Linked DNA regions of Homo sapiens: regions 2 and 3 are each linked to region 1. Evidence: promoter capture Hi-C in human tissues and cell types (Jung and others, 2019). All regions are on one chromosome and are shown on one strand. Each heading gives the region's core, a stretch centred on a gene start or on the middle of the fragment in contact. The rest is flanking DNA. Distances are from core to core; before and after follow the strand shown.

Evidence for each region. Contacts are between HindIII fragments. The study calls those that stand out against the background at their distance.
Region 2: a contact is called between a fragment that was not itself captured here and the fragment with the promoter of C1QL3 in region 1, in 4 of the 25 tissues and cell types used here (dorsolateral prefrontal cortex, mesendoderm cells, ovary and 1 more).
Region 3: a contact is called between a fragment that was not itself captured here and the fragment with the promoter of C1QL3 in region 1, in 2 of the 25 tissues and cell types used here (ovary and thymus).

The regions. Positions count from the first base shown.
Region 1 is chr10:16,520,159-16,524,096 of GRCh38, reverse strand. C1QL3 (complement C1q like 3) reads left to right here and starts at 2,218. Exons shown (of 2, transcript NM_001010908.2): 1 at 2,218-3,619. The coding sequence starts at 3,032. RefSeq lists silencers at 2,278-2,507, 2,778-2,997, 3,308-3,367 and an enhancer at 3,667-3,938. The HindIII fragment of the contact is 8,174 bases long and covers 1-3,938 here.
Region 2 is chr10:16,568,275-16,572,212 of GRCh38, reverse strand. No RefSeq gene overlaps it. Among named protein-coding and RNA genes, the nearest start is that of C1QL3, 48 kb to the right of the region's middle. RefSeq lists an enhancer at 1,182-1,411. The HindIII fragment of the contact is 6,458 bases long and covers 1-3,938 here.
Region 3 is chr10:16,480,749-16,484,686 of GRCh38, reverse strand. It overlaps PTER (phosphotriesterase related), which reads right to left. Exons shown (of 5, transcript NM_001261836.2): 2 at 1-350. The coding sequence starts at 302. Among named protein-coding and RNA genes, the nearest start is that of C1QL3, 39 kb to the left of the region's middle. The HindIII fragment of the contact is 6,546 bases long and covers 1-3,938 here.

The sequences.
Region 1 (3,938 bases), core at 969-3,468:
TTGTGTAGAGGGGAGTACAGCAGCAAGCTCATTGAATGGCATTGATCCTCCTGGAAGCTCTCTGTTTCGGTCTCATCATCTGCATGAACAGAGAGTCCATTTCAACTCTTAATATTTTATAAGCATTGATGAGCATTTTATGAGCATTTGACTCCAATATATCTTAAGCGTTAGTCAATGGGAAAACTCCACATAGCTTGAGGTTTTGATGAGAACTTCTCTATACATCTCTACCTTTTAAAAACTCCTTTTGTGTCACCTACAGAACTCTTCATAGCAATAGAGAGGCCTTATGAAATTTGATAATCTGGTGCATCAGAGTTTTATTAATATCCTACCCCCCCAGTGCTGGCAGCAAACCTCACCATTTTGTCCTCCAAAAGGAAGGTGACTTTTAAGAAGCAATCCAGAAGGTGTGTTAGGAAAGTAAGTATTATGGCCAGGAGACAACTTATTATGTGTTTGCTCCTTAAAAATATGAAAATAAGGCAGCTCATGTGAACAAAAATATTATGGAACTATGTGTATAATTATGCCCAAGCAATAGGCGCGCATTTATAAAACCACTACCCTAAAATAAAAGTTAAGGGCTTGAGAAGTGGGAAGCCCTATTTTCCAATACCAGGAGCAGTGTGGCTCTCTCAGTAGCCAGGAGGTGGAGACCCCCACCCCGCTGAGCCACACAGCACAGCTTTTAGGGTTGATTCTCCCAGCCAAGGCCTGAAGGAGCTACTGACATTTCTCTTAAAAGAATCATTCAGTCTTTGTTTCCTTCTGTCTGCTCGTTTGACCTTATTTTGTTTTGAAACAGAGAAGAAAGAAAGAAAGAAAGAACTAAATTGGTGGGGTGGACTGGAGTAGGCTGGGGGGCGGGGAGATTGAGGCACAGGGAGGAAAGGAGAAGTCCATGCTGTGACACCCGCAGACAAGATCACAGGCTGCTGATCGTCACCCAGGATGTTACTGTTTGCTTGCTGTAGTCTTATTTGTTCCTGCTTTTCTCATTTCAGATTCTCACCCTGATGTAATAAGTCACCGTCTTCCCAGCCATCATCCTCGTATTGACAAGCAAATGTCACCCACGTTTGATTGACATCTGTTGCTCCTGAATGCAAAAGTATGATTTAGGATTCAATTCTACTTATTTATTTAAAGCCATTCTTGTGTGTCTTATGTATTTGTTGGTGGGGTAACTTGCCTGATATCTACCCTGGAGGCCTTCCAGTAATATGATAAACCATGCTGTTCCTTCTGCAGCTCACCCACTGAGAATGGGGGCTCTTCTTTCTTGTATTTCTCCTACTTCTCCCCTCCCTCAATGTATATTCGGGAAATCTGCTATGGAGCTTATAGAACTCTTTCCATATGCTAGGAAAAGACCTTGCCCAGCACTTGTGCAAAAGCTTCTTGCTTGATCTTTTGACGCCATTTTGACAAGTGGTTATTTCTTGTACATTTAGCGACTTTAAGTAAACGCAACTTCAGGGCCATTGGCGGTATCCCCCGAAAGACTGCTAGAACTGTAAGACTGTAAGCACAGTACGTATGTATGCACTCACCACGGTGCAGCATTTGTAAAAAGGACCAACCCCCTCCTCCCCCAGAGGCGGTGGACATGTTCATTTAAAATCATTCACAAATGTTCTTTGGCTTTTCAACATACCTCACTGTTCTTGGGGCAACATCTTATTCATTTACAAGGCAGAGGAGGAAAACCATCAGGTTAAAAGAAAATCACATCTACCATCTGGAAAATTCTAAAAGGCCCTCCTTCTGTTAACAGTGGCATTTTGAAAACACCTGAAGCACTGATTGTAGAGGAGCTAGCAAAGAAACTGTCAACTCAGCCACCCTCCTTTCAACCTTCACCTCCACCCTCCAACTGGGGCTGCTGGCAGTGGGGAAATCGGGGATTTAGGTGTGACCCTTGAGCTCTGAAAGCTGTCGCACAGCTGTCTCCCTTCCCCAGGTGGGTCCAGCAGGACCTGCCATCGCTTGGTTCAGCAAGGGAGTATTCAGAATCTCACTGTTCATCCATGTGCAGAGAGAGAAAAAAAGAGAGGCCGAAAAAAAAAAAAAAATCCCACATTGTCAGAGTAATGCCAAACTCTCTCTGAGTGGGATGAGCAGAGCAGATGCTGCAATGAGATGCCAAAGCGGCTCCCCTTCCTCTGTGCCTTGGGTGCCTATAAATTGCTCCGGCGCGCGTTTGTCAGCCTCCTCTTCTCCTGGCAGGTGGTACCCAGGCAGAATTCTGCCTTCAGTCTCTCTCTCGCTCCGCTCCCGGCCGTGAGGCGCTCGCCGCTGCTCGCTCGCTCCTCCGCCCCAGCTCTGAGCCTCGCCGTGCCGACCGTGCCCGCCGCCGCCGCCGCTGGGCGCACCCGGGGGACGCCCGGGCCCACGCGGGGCTTTGGGGTGCGCGTCTATTCGAGTTGTGGTGGTGGCAAAGGAGGAAGAGAGAAAGGAGGCAATAAAAAAAAAAGGCAGCGGACGGGCGAACTGAGCGAGCGAAAGAAGAGGAGGAGGAGGCAGAAAAAGGCAACTTCAGACGGAAAGTTGGTGCGAACAGGCGCAGTCTGCAAAAACGGAAAAGTCGATCGCAGGCGGCGGCGGCATAAAAGTGTGAGCTGCCCGGGCGAGCTCAGGAGGCGGCGGCTGGCTCTGCCCTCCCGGTGGCCGCGCCGGCGCCGGCTGCAGCCACAGGTGCGAAGGAGCTCGCGGGGGGCGAGGGCGCCCCGCGCACCCCTCCCCCGGCCCCCACCCCGGGCTCGGGACTTCGGCTCAAGTCACTGGGCGCCCGCGCTCCCTCCCCAGCCGCAGCCTCCGCGGGGGGAGCAGGAGTCGGCAGCAGCGGCCGGCGCACGCACGCCCAGGGGAGTTGGGGTTCGCAGGGGGTTGTTTTCGGCTCTGAAGAGGTCCCCGCCCAACCTTCAAAATTCTGTCCAAAAGCAGACAAGAGGATCGCCCCGCGCTGAGCCGGCTGGTGGGCAGCAGGAGGCGCCTGATCGCCGCCGGGGCGCTGGGGGTGGTGATGGTGCTGCTGCTGGTGATCCTCATCCCGGTGCTGGTGAGCTCGGCCGGCACGTCGGCGCACTACGAGATGCTGGGCACCTGCCGCATGGTCTGCGACCCCTACGGGGGCACCAAGGCGCCCAGCACCGCTGCCACGCCCGACCGCGGCCTCATGCAGTCCCTGCCCACCTTCATCCAGGGCCCCAAAGGCGAGGCCGGCAGGCCCGGGAAGGCGGGTCCGCGCGGGCCCCCCGGAGAGCCCGGGCCACCCGGCCCCATGGGGCCCCCGGGCGAGAAGGGCGAGCCGGGCCGCCAAGGCCTGCCGGGCCCGCCCGGGGCGCCCGGCCTGAACGCGGCCGGGGCCATCAGCGCCGCCACCTACAGCACGGTGCCCAAGATCGCCTTCTACGCCGGCCTCAAGCGGCAGCATGAAGGCTACGAGGTGCTCAAGTTCGACGACGTGGTCACCAACCTCGGAAACCACTACGACCCCACCACCGGCAAGTTCACCTGCTCCATCCCGGGCATCTACTTCTTCACCTACCACGTCCTGATGCGCGGAGGGGACGGCACCAGCATGTGGGCTGATCTCTGCAAAAACAACCAGGTGAGCGCGGGCGGGCGGCGGGGAGGGCGGGGAGGGAGCGCGGGAAGGTGCGGGCGAGAGGGAGGAGACCCCGGAAATGGGGGTGGGAGCCCGCGGAGGAAGGGCGCGGCGGCCGGGCTCCCTGGAGCGACGGCAAGGGGGGACGCCGTCCCACCCTGGAGAGGCGGGGGTCGTGCGCGCAGGAGGGCGCCCCGCGGCCTGGAGAGGGCAGTTCCGGAGTCTGGGACCCTCGATCGGTGCGCGCCCCTGCGAGCGCGACCCTCGAGGGGCGGGAAGCCGGGAGCTGGGTCCCGGGGACAGCTCGTGCGCTGGGGAGTCC
Region 2 (3,938 bases), core at 593-3,092, 48 kb before region 1:
TTGTTATGCATCATATACATTTCTACATAATATATTTTGGATAGCTTCCTACATGGTATAACTCTATCTCTTTCTTTTAAATTTACATTGTAATACCATTGAATAAATGTAGCAAAAGATTCTTAACCAATCTCCAATTATGGCTTGTTGGATTCTTTGTTTTTGCTCTGACAATCGCTTTTGCCGAGAATGTTTCTGTACACATGTATTTCAATACTTGAGCAAGTTTTACTGTAAGACAGATTTGAGAAGTGGAAATACTGAATCAAAAATGTACAATCTAAATTTTGTAATTAATAGGAATTAATGTGGAATGATTATCTTAAAACTCTGGTCTTCATCTCCAATTGCCTAGTGGTTTTTTTGTTTTTTTGTTTTTTTTTTTGGAGACAGAGTCTCGCTGTGTCACCCAGGCTGGAGTGCAGTGGTGCGATCTCGCTTCACTAAAACCACCGCCTCCTGGGTTCAAGCGATTCTCCTGCCTCAGCCTCCTGAGCAGCTGGGATTACAGGTGCCTAGTGGTCTGTAATCTACTGTGTAAATGTGTAAATCTACACATTTAATAGATACAGATACTATCTATCTGCCCTCCAAATATTTTCTGATTAGCTCTTAAAAATGAATTTATTTGGATCAAACTTGTTGAAAATTAGTAGAGTTTTAGTAAAGGATTCACATGTGTAACTACTATTCTTATTTTAATTTGCTTGCAGTATAAGGTCAAAATTATATACCAAGTTGACTTTTTAAAAAAATGGTGAGTACATAGGTGTATATATTTATGGGGTACATGAGATCTTTTGATCCAGGCATGCAATGTTTAATAATCACACCATGGAAGATGGGGTTCCCATCCCCACAAACATTTATCCTTTGTGTTATAAATAATCCAATTACACTCTTAGTTATTTTTAAATGCACAATTAAATTATTTTGACTATAGTCTCCCTGCTGTGCTATCAAATACTAGGTATTATTAATTACTTCAGGGTTTATTTGTAGCTGTTAACCATCCCCACTTCTCCCTACCCCATGCTACCCTTCCCAGCCTCTGGTAACTATCTTTCTACTCTCTACCAGATTGACTTTTAGTTTTGGGTTGAGTCTATCCTTATTCTCTGTGCAAAATCTCTCTTCCATTGAACAGAGTTGGACTGTCTTTGATGTCTGCATAAGTAGGCACCAAGGTTTGCAATAAGAAAAGTAGTATACCTTGGTGACTGTGAAGTCAGACAGATTACATTTGACTCCTACCTCTTTTAATCATTAGCTGTGTGTCCTTGGGGAAATGACGTGACCTCTCTTAGTTTCAGTTTTCTTTTCTGCAAAAATGGAAATGACAACAATAATTGCTACCTTGTAGGGAGGTTTGGAGAATTAAAACTCGTTCTACAGTGCCTAGCATGCAATAGACGCTTGTTGGGTGGTTTCCTTCTAAGGGTGCAACGGGTATGGCTCAAGCAAGAATGAAACCTATTACTGAAGATGATCCAAAATGAGATGCCAGAAGGTAGATGTCAGACCAAAAAATCCCACTGTCCACATCAGTCAGGCAATTGGCATTGGTAACTCTAGAAGACTTTTAAATCATCCTTATCATTTAGTTTCCCTAATAATGACAAATAAAAACAAAGTGGAAAGTGAGATGCCTAGATTCCCCTGCAACTAGATTTACCTTAAGAGCAAAGGAGGCCAGGCATGGTGGATCACGCCTGTAATCCCAGCACTTTGGGAGGCCGAGCTGGGTGGATCACAAGGTCAGGAGTTCAAGACCAGCCTGGCCAACATGGTGAAACCCCGTCTCTACTCAAAATATAAAAATTAGCCGGGCATGGTGGCAGGTGCCTGTAATCCCAGCTACTCAGGAGGCTGAGTCAGAGAATTGCTGGGAGGCAGAGGTTTCAGTGAGCTGAGATTGCACCACTGCTCCACAACCTGGGCCGTAGAGTGAGACTCCATCTCAAAAACAAAACAAAACAAAAAACAAGAAATAAACAACCAAAGGAGACCTTTCCACAGGTGTTAGTTGACAGAATTATAAGCCTTGCACATCTAGGATGAACCAGACAAGGAATATTTTGCAAAGATTAAGGCAGCAAGGAAATGTTGTCATTCTTGCGTAAGCAAAGTCTACGTTATTCTGCTATAATCAGAGCATTTTGCATTTGTGCAACAATTCTTGCTCTTATGGGTACATCAGAGCTCAAGTGTGCCATGAAAAGGTAATGGCAATAAATTCCACAAAAGAATGAGTGACAGTAATTGGAAGGAATTTGAGCAGAAGGGATATGAAAAAGTAGCTTTTGATTATTCTCTTCTTTTTTATAATATAAATGATCATTGGTAACACATTTAATTTGACAGTAGTCCAAGGCCTTCAAAAATATTCCTACGAACCAGTTATAAACTGTGATAATCAATTTCTTGGCAATTACACTGATTAAGGAAATTATTCATCTACTACATTCTTCATCTCAGATATTTTTCAAATGTCACTTGAGCCTCTTAAGCTTAAAAAAACCTTGCTATTAGCCAGTACACACAATAAATGTAAAACCGATGGCACCAATATTATGAATAGTACCTCTTAGGACAAAATCTGATTTGTTTGAAGGCAGATGACATTATAAAGGATAGTCAAGATGTCACTAGAGGGACTTTGTATGCAGCTTGATTTACTTAGCATCTTTGTCACTTTATAGATTGAGATATGATTGATAGTAACATTAATATAGAAAGTATGTTAATATTAGAACAGACTTTAAGATCCCCTACTAGAAAATTCTCCACCTCCTCAAATTGATATAATTTGGAATAAAATGCCCTAAGGATGCAATGATTCTTAGTCTTGCTACCCCTTGATGTAAGCTTTTATTTTTTTTAGAAAATTAAATCAGTTTTATTGAGGTACACTTTATATACAATAAAATAATACACCCAATTTAAGTATACATTTCCGTAAGTTTTGACAAATGTGCACACCTGTGTAACCATTACCACAATCAAGGTACATTTTATCACCCCAAAAGTTCCTTTTTGGTCCTTCCCAGGCAACACCCTCTACCCCTCAGCCCTAGGCAAATGCTAACGTATTTTATATCACTATGAATTGGATTAGATTTCTCTTTTCTGGAGTTTTATATCAATCAATCTTAAAGAGTGTAGAATTTTGTGTCTGCTTCCTTTACTCAGCACAATGCTTCTGAGATTCACCCACGTTTCCTGTATCAGCCGTTCATTTTCTTTTTTCGGCTTGTGAGAACATAGTGTAACATGTGTAGACATTCAATTGATGACAGCCATTTTTGTTTCCAGTTTGGGGCCATTATCAGTGAAGCTGCTTTATCTATTCATAAATAAACCTTTGTTGTGGACATATTTATTTCTCTTGGGTAAGCATCTAGGAAGAGTATTGTAGGGCGGCAGTCCCCAATCTTTTTTGTACCAGGGATTCATTTTGTGGAAGACACTTTTTCCACAGACTGTGGGTGGCGTGGGATGTTTCTGGGATGAAACTGTTCTACCTCAGATCATCAGGCGTTAGAGTCTCATACAGAGCATACAACCTAGATCCTGGGCATGCACAGTTCACAATAGGGTTCCACTCCAAAGTGGGTGGATCATCTGAGGTCAGGAGTTCAAGGCCAGTCTGACCAACATGGTGAAACCCCATCTCTGCTAAAAATACAAAAAAGTTAGCCAGGTGCGGTGGCATGCACCTGTAATCCCAGCTACTCGGGAGGCTGAGGCAGGAGAATCGCTTGAACCTGGGAGGCAGAGGTTGCAGTGAGCCAAGATCACATCACTGCACTCCAGCCTGGGCGACGAGAGCAAAAAACTCCCATCTCAAAAAAAAAAAAAAAGAAAGAAAGAAAGAAAGAAAGAAAAAAAAAAATCGAATGTCCCTGCTGATCTGACGGAGGGTGGAGCTCAAGCAG
Region 3 (3,938 bases), core at 872-3,371, 39 kb after region 1:
GTGGTTGTGTTTTCCACCAAAGCCCCTCCACCATTAGCTTTAAAATACAACAGTTCTTCCTTTATGGCTTCTGTCTCCTGATTTAATTGAAGGTTTTCTTTATGGGAATAGGCGTTTTTCTGAATCCAATATAAATTTTTCATCACGATAGGTTCTTTGGAAATAGCTTCCTGGCACGGGGGAGGTGGACAGTAACAGCAGTCAAAGGTCATGGCCAGGTGTTCATGGGTCAGGGTACGGCCCAGTTTGCTTGGCTCTACAAGGCCCAAAACGGTTTGGACTTTTCCACTTAAGGAAGACATTTCTGATGGTACCACCAAGAGATGTTCTAAAAAGAGGATTTCTTTTTTCTAAAAACAAACAAACAAACAAACAACTACAATCAGAATATTTAACACACACATAAACTCTTGTCCGTAAGGGGTGGGAGGCTGTGAACATATACCCATGTAAGAAGGCAAATCAATAAAACTAGAGATACGATCTCACAATCCTGCCGACTTCAGAATCTATCCCCACTGCAGATCTAAGTGACGTGCGTGGTGTTAATTGCCTCCCACCCCTTCTACTGGGAGTCCTCTGCCTGAGTTAGTCCTAACCTTATCTACTGGAAATATTCTTTGATATTCAGTTCACTTTTCTTTAACTTAATTGTATCTCTTAATCATAGCTATGCATTCTTGGATAAATCAACAGTAATTGTAATTAAAAAAAAGTATTCAGAATCAATAACTTACATCCAAACTAACCATGTATCAGTACTGTTTCATTTGTCACTTTTTAGCTAAATTAAATATCCTGAAGCAACTGATCTTTCCTCCTTTTTTTTCTTTTTGAGGGAGAGTCTTGCTCTGTTGCCCAGGTTAGAGTGCAGTGGTACGATCTCAGCTCACTGCAACTTCCGCCTCCGCCTCCTGGGTTCAAGGGATTTTCCTGCCCCAGCCTCCTGAGTAGCTGGGACTACACGCATGTGTCACCAAGCCTGGCTAATTTTTGCATTTTTAGGAGATGGGGTTTCCCTATGTTGGCCAGGCTGGTCTTGAACTCCTGACCTCAGGTGATCTGCCTGCCTCGGCCTCCCAAAGTGCCTGGATTACAGGTGTGAACCATCACTCGTGGCCACAACTGATCTTTCTACTGTTCCTCCACTACCCAAGCAAACAAATTTCTGTTGAAGGTCCATGATGTGTCAGAAATTAGAGCCATAAAGAAACAAAAGACAAGATCTCTGACTCACACGACTTCATAGAATATGCCCCTCCCCAAAACAACTGAGGAGCACACTCGGTTGAATAATGAAATAACAACAAGAAACGAACCTCTTCAGGTTGAATGCTTGATTGTCTAGGGCACACAGAAACACACTTCAAAAATACTGAAAAGCAAAGATTCTTAGCCATAATGAAAGCGATTGTGATTTATTGAAACTGAAATCGGCTATCTCTAAAAAGAGCAAAGCCCTCTCTATCCTCGATTTGCTTTCATTTGTAGCACAAATTAAGTGTTCACCAATGTCTATCAGTGATACCAAGAACTCCAATTCCAGTACTTTCCTTTAAAAGTACATTTCCTTTTAAAAAATTTGTTTAAATTAAAAATTAAATGGCCAGGTGCAGTGGCTCATGCCTATAATCCCAGCACTTTTGGGAGGCTGAGGTGGGAAGATCACATAAGGCCAGGAGTTTGAGACCAGCCTGGCCAACATGGTGAAAACCCGTCTCTACTAAAAATACAAAAATTTGCCAAGTGTGGTGGAGCGTGCCTGTAATCCTAGCTACTTGGGAGGCTGAGGCAGAAGAATTGCTTGAACCCAGGAGGCGGAGGTTGCAGTGAGCCGAGATCGCGCCACTGCACTCCAGCCTGGGAAACAGAGCGAGATTATGTCTCAAAAAAAAAAATTTTAAGTACATTTCCTAAATGAAGGGTTTATAAAGGAACAAGAGCTACTGAAAATAGTGAGGACAAACTCCTGCATGGCCAAGAGCAAAATCAGGACTCGAGTCCCAGACTCTGGGAACTGAAGAAAAGGAGCATCACGTGTTTCCAAGCTCTCAAACTGTTCCTTCAAATAGTGTTCTGAAGTCATCATTTCCCCCATATCCCTTGAAAGCCTTCTTTGACTTCCATTTTTGTCATCTGTAAATTAAAATAACGAAGCACATTTCATAGACTGTCGTAAAAATAAATTAGATACCACAGGTAAAAATACCTGTAGATGCATTTGGCACGCAGACCATATTCAACAAATAGTAGCTTTGTTTTGCGAATTCTAGGAACTATTCACGTATATCCTAGATTATTTCTTTTCAGAGAAAGTGGCTGATGAGAGGGGAGATGATTTGGGGGAACAAAGGGGAAAATTTGTGAAGGGTATAGTACACACGTAAGACAAGGTGAAAACAACATCAGAGGTCAGAGGGTGACAGAATTGTAGGCCAATTTATAGCAAGCCACTGCAATTATCTGGAACTCAGGTGTTTGCGATATATTGGCTTATAAGGCATAAATGATGGATTTAGACTTTTGGACAGAACTTAGGACTTGTGGCTAACATGGCCATTGATTTTGTTTGATAGTGCCTTTCTGGAAGCCAAACTTCTATCAGCTAGGCAATTCAAATGGTGGCTAAGAGAAAAGCAGGCAGTGTCTCTTCAGAGAATCACCACACAGCTGCCAGGCACTATACAGGGCAATATTTTCCAATGATGATGGATAGGAATTTACTGTTCAGTGTCTTATTCCTTGCTACTGAGAGCAAGGAGTGTGTAGTTCATGCCTTCCGTTGATGAAATCACAGTACCATTAATAATAGATGCAAGCTTCCATATGGGTTAATTTGCCGTTTCTTTCCTTCTGGCTGACCATCTTACAGACGTGTTCCAGAGAGTCACAGAGGGGCAGAAACTGAGCTAAATTGATAAAATGCTACCACTTTTGCTAGAAAAGTACCAAACTGCATATTCAATTGATGCATATTTGAAAGAGCAATGTTGGTACGTTTCAAGCTCACAAGCTGTGAGTCTTTCTGAAAAAAAAATCACTTAAGAAATGTCATCCCTTCTGGGAGATTCCTCTAATGCTCTCAGGCAGAACTGGCTGGCACTTCCTATGATCACACACAATGTAACCTCCACTCAAAGGATAAGAAACGATTAAAGAACAAACTGTAGCCAACATTGCTCTAAGCTGGAATGTCTTTGAGTGGGGTGGAGTGTGTATCTAGAATACACGCTTCCTGTGCAGGGAGGGAGCCCTTTTCCCTCTGCATTCAGCTTGGAGGTTGCTCTCTTCTCAACATACAGGCAAGAGGTTATTCATGGCCTTCCCCCATAGAGAAGAGAGTTCACAGAACAAGGAAGAAGGTAAGGAACGATGAGAGCAGCTATACCCAATGGTGCAAACAGGACTGGTTACCAACAAACAAAGCAGGCTTCTGGCATTTTCCAGAGTATGCCTGAGAGGCTTAAGCATCACTCACATACACCGGCACAGAAGCTAGTGAGAAAGTGGGTAGCCAGAGCTACAAACACATGGGTCAAAAGTTCTGTTGCACTTCAAATGTGAAATTTGAACAATCTGAGGACTGAGGATAGACTGCAATTACTATTACAGCCTAGCCAAGGGGAACAACATTTCTAATTCTGATGCATCTAGAACTGAAAAAGCACAGAGGGTTTAAAGACAAAAAATAAAAGGGATAAGAGAAGAGAATCAGAGGACAGTCCTCCAGCACAGCTGAAAGCCAGAAACGATAAATAGGATTTGTCTTATTTAAAATACGCATGTTTAAAATATGTGTATTCTAAAACCATATGCATAAATCAACTTCTACAAAATACTTAGACAATTCACCTAATTGTTGAAGATTTGGTGTGCAGGACGGTAGTTTGGGGGCAATTTTAGTTTAGTTTCACTGAGAGTTCCTCACAGCTATTTCA